2 separate regions of the Homo sapiens genome follow, and region 1 is linked to region 2. Evidence: promoter capture Hi-C in 16 types of primary human blood cells and fetal thymus (Javierre and others, 2016). All regions are on one chromosome and are shown on one strand. The core of a region is centred on a gene start or on the middle of the fragment in contact, and the rest is flanking DNA. Distances in the headings are between cores, read along the strand shown. Region 1 holds the start of RSL24D1 (ribosomal L24 domain containing 1). Region 2 holds the start of C15orf40 (chromosome 15 open reading frame 40).

Region 1 (2,500 bases), core at 1-2,500, about 28 Mb before region 2:
AGGTGGATGGCTTATGTGTCAGGCAAAGCTTTATGGTTTCAAGTTTCTCTTTTAATTTAGTCCCCTAAATGCTAACATGCTAACAAATGATCCCCCATACCTTGGACTCAAAGTTCTTCAAACCTTTCTTATTCCACTAATTCAACATTTATTAAGCCCTCATTAAGAATGTATTTTCCCTGTTTGCAAAGTATGTGCAAATATAGAGAATTAGCATTAATTCTACCCTTAACCCATTTATGCCTAAGAAGAGTAAAAGGTGAAGTTTCTATTAATAACAGTCTCAGAAACTAAGAGAATAAAGGCAGAAAGACTAGTTAAAGCCTGGGAAACATAGCAAGCCTCTGTCTCTACACACACACACACACACACACACACACACACACAATGTTAATCTCCCCGTCTCTACAAAAAATTTTTTTGATATTGGGCATGGTGGTGCACACCTGTAGTCCCAGCTACTCAGCATGCTGAGGAGGGAGGACTGCTTAAGTACAGGAGACTGAGGCTGCAGAGAGCCATGATCACACATCTGCACTCCAGCCTGGGCAATAGACAGTGAGACCCTGTCTCAAAAAAAAAAAAAAAAAAAAAGGCTAGATAAGAGGCTATAAAAGTGGTAAGAGCCTAATCTGAACTAGGACAGGAAAGTAGAAAGAAGGCAAAGACACCACTATCTTTGCAGAGGCAGGATAGGTAAGACTTGATAACTAGATACAAAAGGTGAAAAGATTCAGACGACTCTCATGTTTCTAGCAAAACTATCCGGGCACTTAAGAGTGGTATTAATTCACAGAGCAAAAAGATCTGAGGTACTAAGGAATTCTCTTTCAGTAGGCCCACTGTACCTACTGTTAGGTACATCCAATGGAAAATTCAGATTTGGAGCTCAGGAGATTTAGGTTTGGAAATCAAGCATAAAAAAAGATGAGATACTTGTTCTTTGTTAGTGCTTCAGGCCCTCTATCTTTTATTTCCTCCAACAACTCTCTTCTGGATCCACTGGTGACTCCCAACCAACTCAACACTGTCCTTATTCTTCATCAACTTAACTTCCACTGTGTCTACCAAATCAATACCCAGGTCTTGACAGTTCTCACGATCTGTTGTTCTAATTCCAATATCCAGCCGACAAGCATCCTGGACGAAAATCACAAAATCGTAACGACATCATGTATAAAACCATACTGCCTACTCTGAATTAGACCCCAACCTGGCAATCTTTTGGTTCATTTTTATAAACTTCTTATCATGTTCCTGAGAGCAAGTATTCAAAATCTTCTAGGTTCTTTTACGTTATCAAACATGGCTTTGGTCCGTCACTTTCAGCTGAATCCCTTGGATCTAATTAATGAGGTCAATATCTTTGATCTGTTACAGAGATATAAGGTGAAGAAGTCAGACTTGTAATTATTTAGCACGTCAAATTCACCTTAATATACAGATTCTTAGACCCTCTTCCCCTCCCCCAAAGATTCCAACTCAATAGATCTGGTGAAAACCAGGAATCTGTAAACGCCCAGTAATTCAGAAGCAAACGTAAGAGATCAAATTCTGAGAAACAATGTGTTTCTCTGAGAAAGAGAGGAACGGGATTCATTCTGTAATGACAGGACAAATTCATGTACCATTCAAAACGTCTTTCACAACTAGGACTCATATTTATTATTTACGTTTACAGACTTATTATACTTGTAGCCCTACGCCCAAGGCTCTATCATCATTTACAATCCAGTCACTTCCTCAAACAAATGTATTTGCTCCGTTCTCTGCCTTTTCTCAAAATGTTCACTTTCCTTCCACTTAGAAGGCCCCCTCCGCTTTCTTCCGCAAAATTCAGGATCCAAGATAAATATCACCTCTATGCTGAGTCTTTCCGTACAGGACCCTCCCCAACTCACCTGCAGTAACTTAATACATAACTCTACCATTAAGCAATACGGAACACTTCCATCAACCTCTACACTTTAGTATGGACCTTAGTGTAATGCCTGACAGGGTATACACTCAACAAAGTTTACTGGATTCAAGAATTTGGCCCAAGTACATGAGTGGCCAAACAGCCCTCACAGACATCCAAGATTCCTGGTAGGCGCTAGCTGGGATCGCTCCTGAAGTTCCTCGCTGCCAACGCCACCCAAGGGTGGCGTGGTGGCCAGCGCCGCTCGGAAGACGGGCAAGGAGAAACCCCCGAAGCGGAACGTTGAGAACGGAGGCCCAGTTAAGCCACCCTCCCAGGGGAACAACGGGAGGAACCCGGGCCAAACACGGCAGACGCAGAAGCACCCAGCACCGAGCCGCCGCGCCCAGGAACCGCGGGAGCTAGGCTGAAGCAAGAACTGGTGTCGACCGCCTTACCTTGCAATCGTTGCGGACGAACATCATGCCGTGTCCAGGATAGATGGGCCCCGAACAGAAATAACACTTTTCGATACGCATGTTGAACCCGCGTGTAACCCCACCAAACAAACGCCAAGCTTGAGAGGAAGTGATGCAACCC
Region 2 (4,883 bases), core at 770-3,269:
ATATGTAAAACAAATGTAAACAGAGCTAGTCAGGAGCCCTGTCTGCCTGGCCTCCTCCTTGCCCAAAGCTGATTCCTGAGGCACCTCCAGCACTCCAGAGAATAGCCTGAAAGCCTCTAACTTAGTCCAACGATCTCATCTGACAGATGAAAAAACTGGACCCATGAATGTTTTATACTGTTTTGATTTAAAACAAATTCGCACAGGAACTGATCACGGGTCTCAGATCTCAAGTTTTCTCCCTCTCCTTAGGCCAGTGATCATTAAACTACACTAAAATGTCTCTTCTTTCTCTGGCCAATGTCTCCAGTTTTGGAACAGGACAAACTAAGAATAATCCAGACTACACACAAGTTTCCATAACTGTCCTTTCTAAAATACTGTATTTTTAAAGAGGAAAATATACAATGGTTTTCGTGTAACTTGGCATGATTTAAAGATATATTCACTTTAAGACACCTTTACATTAGAATCTAGAATTTTAAAATGGAGAAGCCTCTAACTGCAGATGTGAAAAATCAACTGTCATAGAATAAGCTTTCAGCTAACCAAAGCAAAGGAGGGCTGTAGGAGACACCTGATTCACACTTGAATCCCACCCCAGTGTCCAGGTATACCTGTTACAGCATTTTGTTTGGAGCCAGGTTTTGCATGGATGGCTATGGTGACGCATCCTTTAGGATCAACTGCCACAGGACCTAAGGGAGGAAGTGGTCTCTCTGGTTCCTTGCTCTGGCTTTTACCCTAAAATGACAACCACACAACTTTACAGGTTACAAAATATTTTCCCACACATTTAATTTGATTCTTCCACTACCCCCTTTCACCCTTAACAGACAAACTAGGCTCATCAGTGGTGTCCAGGGACTTCTGGCCACCTAGAAAGCTTTTCCCACAACCTTCAAGGCTCTACTCAATTTTCCCACGAAGGGTTCCCATCAACCCAACAGTGTTTTTTCCCCCCTTGCAAGAAAACCTAACTCTGGCTTCTAAACCTTAATGCTTGCTCCTCCCTCTGCTTTGTATTTCCAATTCCTTGGGGGCAGGGATCATTTATTATTCATCATTGTATCTCATGCAGTCGGAGCTAATAAATGTTGGTGAAAGTGTGTATGTCTGCATGTTGCGGGAAAGGGAGGAAAAAAAAATAGTGCTTGATATTTAAAGGCCTGTTATGGGACAGGGGCTGTGCTAGGAACTTTCGTTCAACAAATATGTAGGCAATGGATATGTAAAGATGAAAAGGTACATGGTCCTTGCTCTCAAGGAGCTCGGACTGCTGCGAGGGAGAAAGAACATACAAAATTATAATACACTGTGCTAAGTGCACCGATGAGATAGGCACAGAACATTACCCCACAGGCAAATCAGCATTGGGGCACTGGAGAATGCTGCCAGCAGGAGGCAGTGCTTGAGCTGAGTCTGAGAAACGGACTGGGGTTGGCCAAACAAAGATGGTGGAAATGGGAGTGCTGTATTCTTGACAGAAGGGGTGCGATCAGCCAAAGCAAGGGAGGAGAAAGCAGAATACAGCCTCCTGGGGAAACGCAGGTCATGCCGCTGCGGGAACATGAATTGCTGGACTGGGAGTGCGGGTAGGAGGCCAAAGGTCAGCACACGCAGCCCAAGGAGAGCTCGGCTGCCGCCGGGCCCAGCGCTCAGAAATCACCAGGTGGACGGCAGCGCAGCCTACTGAGGCGGGGCGACGGCAGCAGGCCGCAGCTCTGGGGGTGGCGGCGGCTGTCCTGAGCCCCGGAACTGAGAGACGGCAAGCCGCTGGCAGTGCCTCCACTCACTCCCGGGCCCCGCTTCTCCCGCGCTCTTCAACAAGTACCCCTGAGGCCCACCCCTCTGCCGCCACGGGACCTGCTACTGGCCTTGGTCGTCGCACCAGCCTTCTTAGGCATCTCGGCGCAAAGAAGCCGAGCGGAGCCCCGAGTATTGGGTGTTGCCCGAAGGTGCCTCAGCCCGCTGCGGAGCCGCAGCATCCCCGCCTGGGAAGGCGCCGGAAGAGCCCTCTGCGCTTGCGCAGGTAGCCGGCAGGAGCGGCCCCACCGCCCGGCGCATCCGCTCTGGCCAGAGGGCGACACCTTAAGGCCGGCGGGAGCGAGTCTCGTGGCCGCAGAACATGCGCGAGTCTCTTTTGTTCTGGAACGGGCCGAGCCCCAGGAAGTGGAGCTGCGGAGCTGAGGCCTCACCGTGTCTTGGCCCACCCTGCTCAGCTGATAGGAAGGTGTGTCACCTCTTTCCTAATCGGGGAAAGAAAGGTATTGTCACTTCTCAGAATTGGAGAGCGCGGCAAGGAGTGCACAGGGCCAGGTGTCTTCTCGCTCCCACAGCCAAGCAGCAGATGCAGAGTCCCACGCGCTGCCTGTGGCCATCAAGTCGATATAGAGCCTCGTGGCGGCTTGGCCCTTGTGAATCTTCCACGTATCGATGGCGCACCTACCTTGTGCCAGGCGCAGCGGATCCCACAATGTAAAAGAAGAGGAAATACACTGCGACATGTGATATGGAGAGACATGAAACAAATCAGCAGAGGCAAGATCATGGAGTCACTGAAGGCTTTCAAGCAAGGGATTATTAGCAGCCCAATTTGCTGGGTTTTAGAAAGACACCGGCTGCACTGTGGCCGACAGAGGAAAAGCCAGAGACAGGGAGATCCGCCCCCTAAATGGGAGAGGGTGGCCTGAACTAGAGTAACCGCAGGGAGGGTGGAGCGCTGATCATTTCAAGGATCTTCAGGAACTGAAATGATCAGAACTTGGGAATGACTGCATGTGCGAATAAGGGGGAAAAGTCAAGGAAATGCCCAGGTTTGGGGCCCAAGGAACAGGTTTGGGAGGCCGAGGTGAGGAGTTCAGCTTTGGACATAATGAGTTTGAGATGCCCACAGGACATCCAAATACAAATGTTAAAGGGGTAACTGAATATATGTGACTGGAGTTTGCGAAATCAAGGCTGGTGATAGAGATTCTGGAATCTTCTGAAAGCAGATGGCAATTGAAGCTATGGAAATGGATGAGAGAGTGTGTAAAGAGCACGAGGGCCCAGGTTAGAACAGCAAGGGCAGGTAGAGAAGTCACCAAAGGACACTGACCAGGTAGGAGTACGGTGTAACGGCAGCTAAAGAAGGGCGCTTCAAGAGGGAACATCAACAGTGATGAACACTCTGGAGAGAACATGTCACATGTAACGACTGAGAAGTGGCCACAAGATTTAGAAATCAGGGTGGTGGTGGTGACCCGGGCTACAGCAGTTTTAGTGGAGAGAAGGAAATGGAGATAATTGTAGAGAATAATCCAGTGACTTCACTGTGAAGGAGCAATTGGTATCTGGAGGGGCACATGACATTCAGAGACTTATTTTTATCATATTTGAAGATTGGTAGGAAAGAGCCAGGAGAAGAGAGGTTACAGCAGAGGACGGTTCCTGAAGAGGTAGGATCTGAGCTCAAGTAGAGATTGAGTTCTCTACAGGAGGCCTTAGACACTCCTTCCTTCCTAAGGGAAAGCTTAGGTGGACATGTAGCTGTGTTTGTAGGTTTGGTGATGGGAGGTGGAATTTCTTTCATTAACTAAGGCGGGGGAGGTGTTGAAGGTATATTGGGACTCTTGAGAATGGCAAAGGGCTGACTATTGCAACTCACCCAGCGGTAGACAGTTAAGGGAGACCGTGAAATCATCTATGATCCCAATCTATAGTTACCTTATTTTATTTTTGTTTATTTTTGAGACAGGGGGATGGGAAGAGCCTGTCGCCCAGGCTGGAGTGCAGTGGCGGGATCTCGGCTCACTGCAACCTCCGCCTCCTAGGTTCAAGCAATTCTCCCTGCCTCAGCCTCCAGAGTAGCTGGGACTACAGGCGCGCGCCACCACACCCATTTTTTGTATTTTTAGTAGAGACGGGCGTTTCGCCATTTCGCCCAGGCTGGTCTCGAACTCCTGAGCTCAGGCAATCCACCCACTTCGGCCTCCCAAAGTGCTAGGATTACAGGCGTGAGCTAGCGCCTGGCCTATAGTTACGTTACTTTAGATGCCTGGATTCACCAGCTAAGAAGTTTTTTTTTTAATTAAATTTTTTTTTGGCCCCAGTGCTACTACCAAAGCAGTCAGGAAGTTGAAGATAAGGCAGACAACTGGATTGATTCAGGTATATTTAAGTGGGTTGAGGGTTATTGATGAAATGGTTAAAGTTATTAAAGACCAAAGGTGGAGAGGGGTTGAGGGAGACCAAAAGTAGAGTCTAACTGGGTAAAGAAGGAAGTAAAGAAGAAAAGAACAGAGAGGACAAGGGGCTGCAGTCTTAGGTTCAATAACGGGTGTAACTGGAATGTGAGTGAGAGCTGGAAGAAACACCAAAGGTTGTGGCCAGAGAGTGGGATGTCTGAATTTCCTATTTCAGATGTAGAGCAATTCCACATCATGATAGGGTATATGGTGTGGCCATGATAAGGAATGGTGAAGGTTGCTGGAGGTAAAGAAGAAACTGGAAACCTAGGTGTAGCTGGGTTGTCCACATGGCCACTGAGGCCATGCAGTATAAAGGCTTGAGCAGAAGAAAGTGAGCCAGGTGTTAAACCAAAACCATATTTCCCTTCTTTGAAATCAGTTAAGAATTGAGGCACAAAAGCTGAACCAGCATTATATAGCAGTCATTTGTAGAATCTGCTTTGGGTGAAGTCACGTCAGCCTCAATTAGAGGTTTGGCAGTTGTCATGGAAATAAAGGGGACGTCTGTGAAGGTGAGTTACGATGGCATCTGGCTAGATGGGTGAGGAGAGCTAAGAGGTGCTCTGCTGTGAACCATTCAGCCTTTCCCACACGTGACTCAGGAGTAGGGGATATGAGGACTTCATTGCACCAGTGGGGAGGAGAAAAGCC

What was found. The method cuts DNA at HindIII sites, captures the fragments that hold promoters and counts their contacts. A CHiCAGO score of 5 or more calls a contact.
Region 1: a fragment that was not itself captured here is called in contact with the fragment with the promoter of C15orf40 in region 2 in 1 of 17 cell types (non-activated CD4 T cells); the score reaches 6.1 in non-activated CD4 T cells.

Annotation. Positions count from the first base shown.
Region 1 is chr15:55,194,452-55,196,951 of GRCh38, forward strand. It overlaps RSL24D1 (ribosomal L24 domain containing 1), which reads right to left and starts at 2,490. Exons shown (of 6, transcript NM_016304.3): 1 at 2,359-2,490. The coding sequence starts at 2,439. RefSeq lists enhancers at 1,610-2,500, 2,295-2,454. The HindIII fragment of the contact is 2,449 bases long and covers 27-2,475 here.
Region 2 is chr15:83,009,620-83,014,502 of GRCh38, forward strand. C15orf40 (chromosome 15 open reading frame 40) reads right to left here and starts at 2,020. Exons shown (of 4, transcript NM_144597.3): 1 at 1,878-2,020; 2 at 618-744. The coding sequence starts at 1,988. It overlaps LOC124903542 (a long non-coding RNA gene), which reads left to right and starts at 2,122. Exons shown (of 2, transcript XR_007064742.1): 1 at 2,122-3,440. RefSeq lists an enhancer at 2,198-2,257. The HindIII fragment of the contact is 2,628 bases long and covers 885-3,512 here.